Regions from separate parts of the Homo sapiens genome. Here region 2 is linked to region 1. Evidence: promoter capture Hi-C in 16 types of primary human blood cells and fetal thymus (Javierre and others, 2016). All regions are on one chromosome and are shown on one strand. Each heading gives the region's core, a stretch centred on a gene start or on the middle of the fragment in contact. The rest is flanking DNA. Distances are from core to core; before and after follow the strand shown. Region 1 holds the start of PSMD6-AS1 (PSMD6 antisense RNA 1). Region 2 has its middle 88 kb from the start of PRICKLE2-DT.

Region 1 (7,874 bases), core at 683-3,182:
AAATATTAGTACGTGAACTTTGTCATCTATGAACAAGTTCCTTTAGAAGCTGAGCTCTGATAGTGATGTCAAATAGCCACCTGTTACTTGAAGACGATGTTTGCATACCTGGCCCCTCCTTTATCACTGCTGTTGCTGCCATTGTTGATGACATGATGTGGAAGGGCAGTGAGAAATTTGATACTTGTTCATCTATCTGTTGGACTCAACTAGTAGTGTTGCTTTAGTTTTTAATCTTTTTATCTGAAACGGAGAGTCTATTATAATTTGTCATTTTATTCATTGCAGCGGTTGTGGAACAGGAAATGAAAAAGGACTGGCTTTTTGCCCCTCATTATCGATACTATGTAAGAGAAATGAGAATTCATGCATACAGTCAGCTGCTGGAATCATATAGGTCATTAACCCTTGGCTATATGGCAGAAGCGTTTGGTGTTGGTGTGGAATTCATTGATCAGTAAGTTTGAATAATGCCATGTTAATTGAAGTTTTAAAGTTGCCTTTTAAAATATGTGAACTTGTACAATTTTTTACTTGTTTACATTGGTTCCCTCAATCTTAACGGGGAGGGGAGAGGTTTTTTTCCTCAGTATTATCAAAACATTCGTATCCTGTTGCCTCTGCCTTCCTCATGTCATGTCTGCCCCTTGCATTAACAGATGGGAAGATGAGTTGTAGTGAGGCTAAGTGATTTGTTAAAGGTCATTAGACCAGTTGTTATCAAAAGTTGTCTTCTGTTACTTCTTTGTAGACCACACTGCAGCTACGGTAATGACTCTTAGATCTGATATTTACAGTTGGTCATATTCCCTCTGATAATTCCTTCCAGTTTTTAGGTTGCTGCTGCAATTCTGGTCAGATTGGTTGTTAAATGTGGGACTTTTAGTACTTGCATCAGTGATTAAACAAATAAATACTTAATGAGCCATTCATTACTATATGTTTGGTATTGTTTTACAGCTCCCTTTTCACACTTTCATTGTAGTAGTAGGGAAGAGATGGCAAGGAAGCAAATAAATATAAAACGTAATTTCACATATAGAAATGAACCTATGGAGATGAGAAAATGCTATCCTTACGTACGGCATGCTTAAGGAGGTGAGGTTTGCTCTGAGATTTGAATTGAGAGGAGTCAGCCATATGGAGTCCTTCTGCGTGCAGAAAAGGGAATAGAAAAGGCTAAGGCTTTGAGCCAGGAATAAGCTTGGATGTTGTAGGAACAGAAAATGTCAGGGTGGCTCCAGCATAGTTGGAGTGGTAGGAGATTTTGAGGATAATATATGGAGAGTTAGGTAGGTAATGATTTGTGTAGGGCCTTGTAGGTCATGGGATGGAGCTTGAGTTTTAAGTAAGTTTGATAGGGAGCCATTGGAAGATTTAGAGCCCAAGTTACATGGTCCTATGCAGTGTCTTTATATAAGAAATAGAGTAAGGTGGCAGAGAGGACCAGTTGTGCTGTTTAGTAGCTCTTAGAGGAGATGTTACCGTGGCGTGGACGAGGGTGGTGAGAGTAGAGTTGGGTAGGAGACATACTCAATATGGGATGTCCAGATGGCATCTAGATCAGTGGCTCCCACATGTAGGTGTTTTTAAATGTTGATGATGGTGTTTTCAATGGTCTGCAGTGGAAACTTTAAATGAAGATGCATTTCTTTTAAATAAGACCATTCTCTTTCTAGTATTTTTTAAATTTCGAACATCCATAAAATTGTAAAGAAAGAATTGTACAGTACATTTTAACATATTTGCTTGTTACAATCTATACATTTTATGTTTTTTAACCACTTCAAAGTAAGTTTCAGACACCAACACATTTTTTAAATGATCCCTACCATTTTTTAAATGATCCCTACCAAAATGGAAGGCTGGTATCCCAAGGTTTTGTTCCATTTCTCAATTCTAGTCTGTGAAATTGAAGTCTGATGACCACTCTTAAGAGGGCTGTTCATTAGGGTGCGGGCTGGGCATTATGAGTGTGTTTTTCATGAGTCAGTGGAAGGAGGGGCTTGTTGTGAGCAGTGCATGAGAAAAACGGCTTGGCTTTGCTTCTTTTTCCAGCTCTGTGGCCTTGGTCAGGTTACGTCTCTTCAGTATCGTAACTGTAATGTGGAGATAAAGCCTTCATTAGTTAGGGGCACACACCGCAGTATTCCTTAAGTCATCTTGATGACAAGTGAATGCAAGGCAGCTGGTACCTTTCAGGTAGTAGTTGAATTCAGGTAGTATTTGTTCAGTTTTTTTTTTTTCCCTTCATGTTCTAAGACCAGCTTGAGAGGCAAAGGTTGTACCACTGAGCTCTAGTTGTTGTTACCTAAAAAGGCCTTGTTTTAAATTTCTGTGATACCTAAGAATTTCAAATCTGGGTTGTCATGGATTCTTTATTCTTTTTTTCTCCCTTAAAAAGTTACATTTTAGATGAAATCCCCTTTTTTAAAATGGGCAAAGCAATAATTCTACATCATTTCTCCCCTTCCCTTCCACTTGTTTAGACTAAGATATGTTAGAGAGGGAAAGGGTCGTTGTTTTAGTAAATACTATTGCTGTTGACATGTTAATACTATTGCTGTTGACATGTTTACTGATGGGCTGTGTTCCATAATTTTGTTTTAGGTCTTTTGTTTGAAACAGTTTACTGTTTTTATCAGTTTTGGTCCCTAATTTTTCCTAACCTACAGTTTTTCTCTGAGTACATATGGTTTCATTGTTTGATCTACTTTCTATCTATCTGAATATGAACTTCTAGGATCATGTTTATTCTAGTAGATGATGACTTAAAGCCTGCAGTATAGGAGGGACAACGTCAACTACTGCATGTGCAATAACAAGCTTGAAGGGAAGCTAAATGTTTGTTACAAATTTAAGACAGTATTTTAATGCCGTTTGCATTTTTCTAAGAATTTTCTATAAAGCTAATTCTGTTATTTTTTGTCTCTAAATTAGGGAACTGTCCAGGTTTATTGCTGCCGGGAGACTACACTGCAAAATAGATAAAGTGAATGAAATAGTAGAAACCAACAGGTACTCTCATTTCTCAGAATAAGGGGCATTCCTAAATTTTAAAAGTAGGTCAACTATTGTCATGGAATAATGTGACTGGTAAATAATTCATTTTTTCTTGAATTTATTTATAGACCTGATAGCAAGAACTGGCAGTACCAAGAAACTATCAAGAAAGGAGATCTGCTACTAAACAGAGTTCAAAAACTTTCCAGAGTAATTAATATGTAAAGCCATGTAACTAACAAAGGATTTGCTTTAGAGATAATTATTTGGAATTTTTATAGCTTACTTCACAATGTGCCCAGGTCAGCTGTATAAAATAAATACTGCATTGTTGTTTCTTTCCATTTATTTTTTTCTTAAACACATAGGCCTTCTAGAATCGGGTCCACTTATGTTAAAATAATGTCACTTGAATTATTCATTAATGAAAATCTGGTTTATAGGGTAAGGTTGCAGCTGGGTTCAGCTAGGTTCAGCTCCTGACTGCCTCATCAGTAAAATACGTCAGTAAAATACGGATGTTGACACAGCCCATTATCGCTTACCTTTAAATCTCTTACCTGTAAGCTTCCCGATTTTAGAAAGAAGAGTAGTGGCCTAAAATTAAACAAACAGTGTCTCCCACTTTTAGTATACAAAAGATAGAAGATAAAGAAAATGTGTAATAAGCTTTCCCTCAGAAACAAGTAACCATATAAGGCAGGAAGTTACTCTTTTTTAGGAAGCTGACATAACCTGGATTACAGAATCTACCAAGGCTGATCTCAGTTTTCTAAAACCTTATATGTAAGTATTTATTAGCAAACTGAATCTTTTTTCCAAAAGTAGGACCATAGTAATAATAGCAGTGAGGAAAACAAAGTTGTTCCTCTGTTTGTTTGAAACAGTTTATTAGTTTTATCAGTTTTATTCAGTGTGTCAGATAGGAATAAGTGCTATAAGAAGTATAAAACCAGATAGACAGACAGATAGATAGATAGATAGATAGAGATACAGGGTATAGGCCGTCTTCTGAGGTGTTGTGGAAGGCTTCTATGGTAAGGTGACATTTAAGTGAAAAGGAGGGAGAGCCCATGAACGTATGGAGGGAAGAAAGACGAGGAAAGTCACTGGCAATTTTAAGTGCGGATTTGGCTTACCTTTTACGTCTCACTTACGGCATTCGGTGGCATGGATTGTACAGGCAGCTGGATTTGCTAAAAGATTGAAGAATGGGGTGAGGAGGATGAGGGGGAGAAAATTTGTCAGAGGAGATCCTAGGCTTTTTGGCTTAAGTGAAAGACAGCTAGTGACCTTAATGAGCAGTTTTGGTAGAGGTGAGTTCAGAAGAGAATGGGAAATGGCATTTTACTGTAAAAGGCAAGGGAAGGAAAGAAGAGTTTTGAGTTTTTTTGCTTTAAATAACATTTACTGATGGGAATGATTCCTGTTAACATATTAGGAATAACATATTCCTAATATGGAATTCCTAACAGGAATAACATACTCCTGTTAACATGATCTCATTTGATTGAAAATAATTTGATATAATTCAACATTTCTTCATGATAAAAAAACTCTTCAGTAGACTATGAATAATAGGTTGGGATATCAAAGCCCTATCACAAGGTAATTAATGGCAAAATATTAGAAGCATTATCTTAAAAGTGAAGACAGCAGCTCTCATCGCTGGAAGAAGAGCCATTGGTTGTATGCCAAGGAAAGCAATGTGGCTAGATCTCTGTTTTGAAAGGAGTTTCCTGTAGGCACTGTATTGTGGAGGGGAGGCTTTTAAAATGCTGACTATGCCTAATGTATTTGAGAATATCCACCTATGAATTTCTAAAAATGCTTATCTAGAAAACATTTCTTAAAGGAAAAAAACCTCAGCTTTTTGGTTTTCTACAGAAAACCAAAGCTAGTCAGGAATGCAAAGGTGGCTTCTGAATGCTACAGAGTTGCAGTTGTTCACCCACAGGCGGCAATTGACACACCCTAAATACTTTTCCAAGAAAAAAATTTATAGTTACCACGTAAAAGTTGACAGTTTAAAAACCACATATCTAGCTTCTCTGGAAAAAGGACAGGTGAAGCTAAATCTGGACTCACGCTCCAATAAGCTGAGCGACAAGCATAGCGTGTTTTCCAGTGTGCCCCAGTCCACCCAGTCTGTTCATATACACTGCCTGTCTGCCTGGCCCCTGCTGGCATTTGAGCTTGTTATCCCTGCACTACCCCCAATATTGTGCATGTGAGGTTGATGGTTAACAGCCTCCTGTGTTAATCAACTAAGACAGGGGTGTCCCATCTTTTGGCTTCCCTGGGCCACACTGGAAGAATTGTCTTGGGTGACACAAAATACGCTAAGGATAGCTGATGAGCTCAAAACAAAACAGCTCATAATGTTTTAAGAAAACTTACAAATGTGTGTTGGGCCACATTCAAAGCTGTTGTGGGCTCTGGGTTGGACAAGCTTGAGCTAGGAGAAACTATCCAAAGAATTCCTAACCTTTATCCTGTCTCTAGTAGCTTTAACTGGTACAGCTTGTTTTCTGAAAGTCTTAATTTTCTGCTTTTATTCAAGAAGGTTACTTCACAATATGAAAATAAGATTATGAAATGATGCTAAAACAGTTATACATAGTTCCTTTTTCATGTTGGTAAATGTTTTCTTTTGAAGTGGGAAACAATCTTATTTTTAACCCTGGTTTCAGTCAAAAGTAACTATCCTAGTGTGAAATGATATCGCCAGGATAAACTATCTTTTGTGATTATTTTTAAAGCAGAAATGCCAGTTTCTCTTACCTCAGTAAAAGTTGATTTTATAGCAAATCTATCGAGTAAGAGCTAAATATTTTAAAGCTATGTCAAATTATGGTAATCTATTTCCTGTATTAGAAATAACAGCTTTAGGTCAATTTTTAAGCTATTAAAAAACAGTGTCTCTTAGGACAGAAACAGTGTAAAAACCACTTTTGTTAAGCACCCAACTTTTACCTGCCCCAGATGGCTAGAAGGATGCCTACAACTTGATCACTAAGCATGCAATACTCAATACACTTAGGATTTTGTGACTGAACACATTTGGTCTTTTATAACCTGACCAAACATTAACTGATAAAAGGCTACTAAATCATTAGCAAATCATTTCTGTAATTTCATATTCTGAATTAGTCCTTGGTGCTGCTGTTAACCTAATGTTTTTAAGATGAACAGCTGACAGCTGAAATATCTGCCCCCATGATTATGGGGGAAAAAGCGTGGAGGGAACTATGATAATCCCTGACCTTCCCAATGCTACATAAACTTGTAGTTGCTGGTAACAAACCTGTGCCTCCACAATGGCAATGGGGGAGTGGGGTAAAATCCCCATCTGGATAACATGAAAAGCTCTGATAATCACTAGTTTTGGTTTCAAAGCTGTAGAGCCACAGATTTGCATTATGCTTGTGTTTCTGAAGGAATACAAAGGCTATCAGGAATTTGTAGCAATCTGATCCAGGCCATTTTAACCTTGACATACATGGTCAAAGGGTATAACCTTTTTTTTTTTTTTTTTTTTTTCCCCATTTAAAAATATCTTACAGTGGCATAACTTTCCCTGTACAAATTGGGTTTAAGAAACAAAAGGGACAATTTGCTAATCAATGATGAGCCTTTAATCCAACCATTATATATCCCCTTTCCATCCTTAGATCCCTTGAAGAGACCATTTAGTTAAGACTACCAACAGGTGACACCCTGACCTCCTTACCAACCTTGCCTTTTAGAGGTGACCAGAGACCTGTGCTTTTCCAAAGTACTGTTATACGTGTAATTAGTATAATATCAATGTGGGGAAACTCTACCTTTGGATTTTGAGGACTCTGCTTTTCTTGAAACCCTCTGGGTTAGAGACTGTTTATTCATATGCACCTCAGGAACTTGAGGCCAAGATGAAGTTCACTGTTTCCTAGTCCTTTGCTTGTTCTCCTGGCCATTATGTTTCCACCTTCATTCAAAATGCCTTCTCTTTGAAGCTGCTTATAACCCAGCAACACCATCAACTCACTGTGCTCACTGTCCTCAATCACACATCTCCAAGTCACTCTCCCCTCTTCCATGCAAATCATCCCAGAACCAAGCAACCCTAATTTGAAATGGACAACCTATACAACACCCTTGGCTTCACAGTTCCTCAGCCTGAATTCCAGTGCTCTTTTCCTCCATGCTGCTTCTGTCCACTGCCATGGTTTCCACCCAGGAATCACAAGCACCTCTGGCCAGTTCTGCTTTTGAAAATAATACTGGAATTCCAATTCCTCTGGCCAGTTCTGCTTTTGAAAGTAATACTGGAATTCCAATTCCTCCATTCCCTGTCCTATTCCTAAAAGTGCTGTATCACTTTGATAACTCTGGCCCCTGGATCTCACCTTGTAGCCCCTCACTTTTATTGGCCATGTGGAATTAAATGTGGACTTTGCTCTGTGACCCTGAACAAATCAATTGTCTAATCATAGAAAAAGTTACCTGGAAGGAGATTCCTAAGACCTAACAAGAAGATAATTCCAGTCAAACCAATGTCTTAAGAGCACCTGCATAGATTCTACATGGTTGGCTTCTAGTTCTCTTCCCTGAATACCCAGTTCAGACCATCATCAATCACTCAGCCACATCTTCACTCTTTGGCAATCTCCCTGCTCAAGTTCTATCTTTTCCACCCAACCAATACATGCTGTTCCAATTATCCTGGAGAAAACAGCAGGGCAATAAAACGTTAACTAAATAGGTAGATAGCATTGGTAATTATAATGGGATTGACTCAAAACATCTAACCCTGTAAACCATCTCAATGCCTTCCCTTACCTCTCTTTTTACTCTACTGCTCCTTCTCCATTTGTCTTCATGAAAAT
Region 2 (7,874 bases), core at 1,861-4,360, 350 kb before region 1:
CGTCCTCCAGTCTGCCACAGTTCCTGTCATTGTCTTTCCTAGAGTGTCCTTCCATCTGAGTTTTCTGATATGTTTGCTTGATTAAACTGAGGTGGGCTTTTTTTTTTGTTTGTTTGAGACAGGGTCTGCCTCTGTCACCCAGGCTGGAGTGCAGTGGTGCGATCTTGGCTCACTGTAACCTCCGCCTCCTTGGTTCAAGCGATTCTCCTACCTCAGCCTCCCAAATGGCTGGGATTACATACATGTGTCACCACACATGGCTAATTATTGTATTTCTAGTAGAGATGGGGTTTCACCCTGTTGGCCAGGCTGGTCTCAAACTCCTGACCTCAAATGATCCACCCGCCTCAGCCTCTCAAAGTGCTGGGATTACAGGCATGAGCCACCATGCCTGACCTGAGGTTGGCTTTTTTGACAAGACCACAGAAGCGATGCTGTGCCCTTCTCAGTGCAGCATGTTGGGGGTAGGCGATATGGTGACATTACTGGTTATGCTTACTTTGATCACTCATTTAAGGTACTGTCTACTAGGCTCCTCCACTGCAAAACTCTTTTTCTCTTTGTAATAAGTATCTTGTGGGGAGACACTTTTAAGACTTTGCAAGTATCATGTTTCTCATCATACTTCTGCCCACCCAATTTAGCCTCCATTAATGATTTTTGCTTGCAACACCTATTACTGTGCTGTTTGCTTAATGACCTTGACTATTTTAATACATAAATTCTCTTTAGTGCTTTTACTTAGATGTCATGTTACATGGTCATATGCCAAATATATTTTTCCATTTTCTTTTCCTGTTTCTCTTCACACATGTACACATTTCTTACCCATTTACAATAATAGTTCGTGGACAAGTTTATAAATACGTTGCTCCTTTAAAAAAAAACACACACACAAAAATTTTTCGGGAAGCCTATCACTGACTTATAGAATTGACAGGCGGCTGTTTCCTCAGGCCACTGAGCTCCTGAGTGCTGTGTTTCCATTCTGTTTCATGAGCAGCTTCCTGAGGCGTCTTGCTCAGTGGGCAAATCAGCATGGCGGGGGCCAGCGTCTGGCAGCACCAGTCTCCATGCATCTTGGGAAGCAGATTACGGGAAGTGATGGATGCTGAGATCGGTTTTGACAGATCTCTAATTTTCTCTCTAATTGAAAGCTGTTGTTGGAGGTGGTTCTCAGTGGTGCCTCTTGTGGGAATTGAGTTTCCGTCACCTTCTGAGCCCTTGCAGCTTTCTTCTCCTGCTGGCCTCTGTGGACTCTGGGTACTAAGGGATGAGAAGGATGCCAGGGCAGAGGAGGAGCAGTCCAGCAATAATTGTATTCTAACCTGGGGAGGAAGAACCAAGTGTCTCTTCCGTAGATGGGAGTGGATTATCTGGCATTAAAGTTCACTTGTTAGTGCTAGGTTAGCAGTAAAAAGATGAAGTTTAAAAAAAAATTAAAGATTAAAAGGTGGGAGCAGAACCTATTCTCTTTTTCATAAATGATGGTTGTTTGCTTTCAAAGTGCCTTCCAGATAGGCAAAGAACATGAACAGAAAGAAAATGTAGAGAAGCGGAATCCACATGTAGATAGGGATATGAAAAGTTCAGCTCTTGAGCAGTAAGTGCAGTGCAGATTCAAGAAAGAGTGAGGTGCCGTTTTACCTGTTAAGTCAGCAAAGGCTTTTGCGGGGAGGGAGATTTGTTTGTTTTTTATTTGGTAACCACAATGCCCGGTGCTGATGAGGTACAGGCAGTAGACAGTTTCATACATTTGATGTTGAGTGTATATATTGGTTCAAAATTTCTGGCAAGGCATTATCAAAAACCTGAAAAATATTCATGCCCTTTGACTCCACATTGTCATTTCCAGGAATTCTTGATAAGGAAATAATCCAAAAAGAGGAAAAAGAAAAAAAAGAAAAAAAAACTGTATCACTTAGGTATTTATAGCAATGCTATTTTTTCATAATTATGAATTGGAAATAACAAAAATATTTAGCAGTGAGGTTATGAAATGGTCTAGCAATAGGGGACTGGAGTATTAATCAAAATAATTTAGCGATTAACAATGATGTTTACAAAGAGTTTTATGAAATGGGGAAAGCTTATGATATATTGATAAATGAAAATTGTATATTTGTTCCTATTATTTTAAAAACATTTAAAAAATACAGGAAGAAAATATGCCAAAATTCTAATGATGGTTGTGTCTGGGTGGTGGAAACTCTCCCCACCCCCACCTTTTTTTAAAATTTCTTGCATACTTAGTTTGTTTAACTCTGCTCTATTCAGCAGTTTTTCAAAAATTAATATTGATTAAATGCCAATGATGTATCAGCATTGATTTATTGTAGCTCTATTTGTGTTAGAAGTATTTTAGTTTTTATATGTTCATTGATTGATTACAGCACTGAGAGTTGCTTTCTCATGACTGCTCAGTGGAGTGTCTTTCAGCTGATGAGGACTAACGTGTCCTTGTTTTGAATGAAACTCTGGGTTTCTCTATCGACTTAGCTGGTAGCAACCATCCCCAGCAGCCTGGACAAAAGTGCACCAGCAGGAGATCCACCTGCATGGGTCCCTGTAGGTGGCCTCACTGTCAGGGTGGGGCTCGGGGATCTGATGGCTGCAGGGCTTCAATGACACAATTGCAATGTGAAAGTTTAAGAGGTTTTATTACTTACAGACCCTGGTGGCACACAGCAAGCCTGGAGGCCGCCACACACAGGGAGTTCAGGGAGCCCAGGCAGGGAGACAGAAGACAATGTGGCAACCATCTATACATATTTGGGAATAGATGTGGGTCACTTTAAGTTCACAGGCACATGCCTAAATGGTTCATGTAAGGGAAATTGCAGGGAAAGCTGGAAGCCCAGTCTGCTAGGTGGGCTAAGTTCTTATCTCTGCTAAGTTCTTACCTCTGGCTCCTGGCTTGAGCCATTTGGGTGTGGTATAGAACTGGAAACTGTCAAAAGTGACACTGAGCTCTGTCTCTGGCATGAGAGAGTTAAACTTATATTTAGAATGGATGCCAAGGCAACATAAAATTATAAGCATTCAGCACAGCCCTTCTATGCTTTCCACAGTACGAATATGCTGTCAGTCTGTGACTTCTCCATCCTTCTCCCCTGCCATTACTGCATGGTCTCATGACACTATGGCCCTGTGATATCAGGAAAGGGCCGCAAAAAATGGTGCTAAAGGTGCCGTGAAGATGCCAAGGAAATCTATAAACAATAGATGTAAAAAATGCAAAATTCACAGGAAACTGCTCTTTAGGAAGTGGCCAGGAAAACAGCATGAAAATCAACTGGTGATAGGGCTGTGGTGATAGGGCTGTGGTGCAAGTCACCTAGCATCCTGCGGGCACCACAAACATCACAGCTGGAAGAATTAACTAACCATTGTGTAGAAAAGTAAGTGGAGGGTATGAGAAAATATAGCTAGAGAAATGACATGGCTTTGAGGGCTTAGAATACACAGAGGAGGGTTGCCAGCGTGCTGATGCAGAACTTTATCTCCATAAGTCCTGGGCTATAAGGATCCCGTATAAGTGGCTTAGTTAGCCCTTCTATTTCTAGGAATTCATTTTCCAAACATGGTGAGTATACACACACACACACACACACACACACACACACACACACCCCAAATTTGCTAAAACTGGCTATGCACATGAGTTTTATATTGGGGAGTGAGGTCACATATTTTTAAAACAAGGGAAGAACAGAGGAAGGAAGGATGGAAAAGAAGGAGAGAGAGAGGGCAGGAGACAAGGAGAAAGAGAGAAAGAAGGGGTTGGGGGGAAAGAGAGAGGAAGAGAGGGAAGAAAATGGACAGACAAAAACAAGAAAGTGCTTTTCCAGTGAACTGTCAATGTCACACCCTGGTTTCAGGTGGTTGTTTTGGATCTGCTGGACAAGTATGGTTTGGAAACTGAAAGTTAGGTGAGTTCATGATTTTGTAGATTGTAGATGTCACCTGGCTGGGACCTGGGGAAATCACTGTCACATGAAAAGAGCTTGTTTCTGTAAATGTGCATTTGGGATGTGGGCCTTGTTCTAACCTTGGGTGACCCTCAGCTGCTTTGGCCTCAGTTTTCTCATCTATAATGTAAAGGGTTTGGAAAGTGATCTTCAAGCTTCTTCCAGTGATTTTGTGGCCCAATATGAGTTATCTGGAGATCTTCTCAACTTTGCAAGAGAAGGAAACAAGCCTTATTCTGCCAGTAGCCCTGGAGTTAACATGTTTCTTCTGGTATAAGTAAGACTTCCATGAACTGTGGTTGGGTGCCTGAATAAGCAGAGTCACCTCAAGATGATCTTTTTTTAGATATTTGCAAGAGGTTTTAATAGCTCCACAAATAGTTGGAGGTCAAAATAAGGATATTTACAACATGGACTATGGTAAATTAAATGTCATGCCTTGTCAACATTCATCCTCTCAGAGGTCCTGTGAGGTAGGTATATCATTATACCCATATTATGGAGCTCTAAAGAGGTGAAGAAGTCTTGGAAAGTCACATCACTAGTAAGTGTTAGAGCCAAGAGTAGAGTCCAGCTCTAGTGTACTCTAAGATCTGTGTATTGAATCGTCATCTGTATTCTTTCTCTCTACTGTTTTCCTACCAGAATCAATGGAATTCACAAAATACCTAAGCCTTGGTTAACTCAAACAATGGTACCAAAATGGCGGTTACAGACAACAATACTCCTGCAAATGTGTTTGTTTGACCCATAGAAATTTTCTTAAAGAATGGAGTCAGTTGCTAATGTTTAGAAATTGGCAGTTTCACATTGGGACCACAGCACTGCAAGGCTGGTTGGAGCTCAGTAGCTGTTGCCCCCTTCAGGAACATTTGCCTCTGACTTGCCTCCCTTATTAATGTTAGTTCTCAGTTTGAAAGAAAAATTCAACCTTTTGGATAGTGAGAAAAATGGTACAGTCAGTTCCTGAATGATTACAATGCAACCACAGTGACAATAGAATTGAAGGTGCTACACATGTAAATAACTCCTCCTTTCCCCTATTCCCCCTTTAAAAGTAACTGAATACCATGTCTGAAAATAAAAAATGTGCAAAACTTTATCAGGTACACACTGTGCAAAAGTATTCTCATATTTGCAAAAGGCTTTACCAGAATATCCTTAAAATGATGAGCTCATTTAAGTTATTATTCTTTTATAAAAACTTTGAATTTAGTGCAATTTCTTAGAACCTCTGATATGCAGACTGTGGTCCCCCTGTATTTAAATAGTTTCTATTTCTCAAGGGACCATGACTAGTATGGCAATGCTGGGGAGGGTGTAGTGGTAGCAGTGTATGTAGGTGTTAGAATTGCTTAATATTTTTAGGGCCTGAGAAGCCTCAGTTCAAACCCTGGCTCTTACATGTACTAGCTGTGCATTTTTGGGATACCTGCACAACTTCTCTGGGCCTCAGTTTTTTGTTTTGCTTTTGTTTTTGGTAAAATGGAGTTGTGTGAGTAGGAAAGTATATTTGAGTAGAAAAGTACATATATACATATATGTACTCATTAATATATGTGTTTATATAATGATTATCTGTGTTACTTTAACATGCTGCCTGGCACGTTGAAATAACACACCTTATTATAGCTATTGTTTTTCTCTTTATGGGATTCCCCAAGAAACCCTTTTTGAAATTTCTCTCAATCCTGACCTGACCACCTCCTAATATTTCTTGAAAATCTTTTGAACATTTGAGAAAATAGTGCTCTACGGTAGGTGACTTTTCCCTTCTATTGAAAGTAAGAGCAGGAGTAACTGCCTGTGCTTAGAAAGAAGGAATTACTTGTGAGCAATATCATAGTGATGGCATTTGGAAATAAGGCCAGTGACCCCAGTGAACTGGCTTCGGGCTGAAATCCTGTGCAGAGCCTGGGATAGCAGTAGGCCCAGTTCAGCTCTGGCTGCTCTGAGTGAGAGCCCCTCCCCTCCACCTTCAAAAGGGTTCACTTCCTTCTAAGTCATCATCCTGTTAACTCTGTACATCCCACTTCTGTGCAGGAGATTGGTGTCCAGTGTTGTTACTTGGAAGTAGGAGGTTAAACAGTGGAACCCCGTTCTGTCCCTTCTCTTGTGACTTTCATATCTTTTACTCTGCAATCCTTTGAGTGTTCTCTGTCACTCTTACTATTTCCTTCCTCTTTGTGCCCTGGGCTGCTGGAAAGAAGGCACTCAGCAAGAGAAAGTAGCAGAACGAATTCTCTTTTTGTGCGTCACGATAAGGTCTTGAGGACCTTATTTCTTACCCCACTGTGCCACACACTGGTTATCTTTTTCCAATATCCTTTCTTCCTATCTTGTTTTATGCTGAAATTTAGGAGGGCACAGGATAAAGACTGCATTTCCCAGCCTCCCTTGTAACTAGGCAGGCTTCGTCCGTCAGTTCTCAAGGGTGGATAACTGAAGTTACTGGCTCCTGCACTCAGAAGGAGAAGCAAGTCCCCCCCGCCTCCTTTCTCTCCCTTTTCCCAGCAGCTGGAATGTGGCTATGGTGCTAGGGAGCCACCATTGACCTGTCGATGATGGTAACACTGTACTGGTGTGGTGCACTCGGGATGAAGGAGGCTGGGTTCCTGAAACTGTGCAATTTCCAAATCAGCCCTGGTCTGCATATACTCAGCTGGTACACAGGAAAGAAATTAGCTTTCTCTTCCTTAAGCCACTGTTACTTTTGTCTTTGTGATGACTAAAGATCTTGAAACTTAGACACACACAAAGGTAATGCCAACCCTTTGTGATTAAGGGTTTTATTTGGATCTATAACTCATGTGGCCAGACGTTGCTGCTGATATATCATGGGAGCTTTTGGCCATGTGTGGCTTGATTCCTAAGGCACTGTAAAAAGACAGAATTTGGAATTAGAGAAAATTGGATTCAAGTTTTGGCTCTGCTACTTATGAGCTGTGTGACCTTGAGCAAATTAATGAACATTTCCGAGCCTCAGTTTTCCCATCAGTAAAATGGAATAGTAATGCCTAACTCACAGAGTTGTGAGCATTTTTGTAAAGCACTTAGCCAGTTGCCTAGCATATGTGAATTATCAATAAATGGTTAGATACATGTATCTGATGGGGCTATCCTTAGCGAAGAACGCAGAGGTGGTCTCTGCACGACTGAACAAAAATTTCAGATGGCTGTAGGGTTTTGAGTGTTGGTTGTAATAATGAGTCATCAGGCATTCTTTGATTCTTTGATTGTTGTGATAGACAGAGGCATGAAGCACCCAGCCACAGGTCTGGAGGAACTCTGCAAACGGCTGTCTGTGTTCTTCTTTCTTCTTTCAGCCCATCTTTGCTTCGTGTGGTCAGCACCCCAAAGTCATTCATTAAATTATGAATTCCTTTACATATTCCTCTGGTCATGCCAAAGCTCTTCTGTTGTGCTAGAAGCTAGGGCAGTACTTTTTTAAAAAAACGGAATAACCCCAAACATATTTGAATTCTATCTTATGGATTTCGTTTTATAAAATTATGATTTTCCAAGTCTTATTTATTTGGGTCAGGTAAATATGTTTACTTTCAGAAAGGAGCCTATCTCTCTGACACATCCTTCAATGTGTTATAGGCATATGTCTAGGCATAGCTTAGATAATCTTTCACGTTTGACTTATTGGGATTATAGTTCCATTATTTTCATCAGTATGGAGGTAGTAATAAATACCTATTCATAGGTGACTCTCAGATTATACATCTGTGCCGTGTTTGTAGAAAGCAGGAGAGGCTAGGGATTTGAATATAAATTCTGTAGTTAGGCTATCTGAGGTCACATCTCAGCTCTATACTTAATAGCTTTGTGACAACAGCAAGTTTCTTAACCCTCTGAGTCTCAGTTTCTACATCTGTAAAATGAGGAAAATAATTT

Evidence for each region. The method cuts DNA at HindIII sites, captures the fragments that hold promoters and counts their contacts. A CHiCAGO score of 5 or more calls a contact.
Region 2: a fragment that was not itself captured here is called in contact with the fragment with the promoter of PSMD6-AS1 in region 1 in 2 of 17 cell types (megakaryocytes and naive CD4 T cells); the score reaches 7.2 in megakaryocytes.

The regions. Positions count from the first base shown.
Region 1 is chr3:64,006,022-64,013,895 of GRCh38, reverse strand. It overlaps PSMD6-AS1 (PSMD6 antisense RNA 1), which reads right to left and starts at 1,932. Exons shown (of 2, transcript NR_189168.1): 1 at 1,854-1,932. PSMD6 (proteasome 26S subunit, non-ATPase 6) reads left to right here. Exons shown (of 8, transcript NM_014814.3): 6 at 289-457; 7 at 2,941-3,018; 8 at 3,132-3,345. The coding sequence ends at 3,228. It overlaps PSMD6-AS2 (PSMD6 antisense RNA 2), which reads right to left. Exons shown (of 3, transcript NR_038286.1): 1 at 7,828-7,874; 2 at 4,143-4,199; 3 at 1,653-2,099. The HindIII fragment of the contact is 1,623 bases long and covers 1,206-2,828 here.
Region 2 is chr3:64,353,749-64,361,622 of GRCh38, reverse strand. No RefSeq gene overlaps it. Among named protein-coding and RNA genes, the nearest start is that of PRICKLE2-DT, 88 kb to the left of the region's middle. The HindIII fragment of the contact is 2,037 bases long and covers 2,092-4,128 here.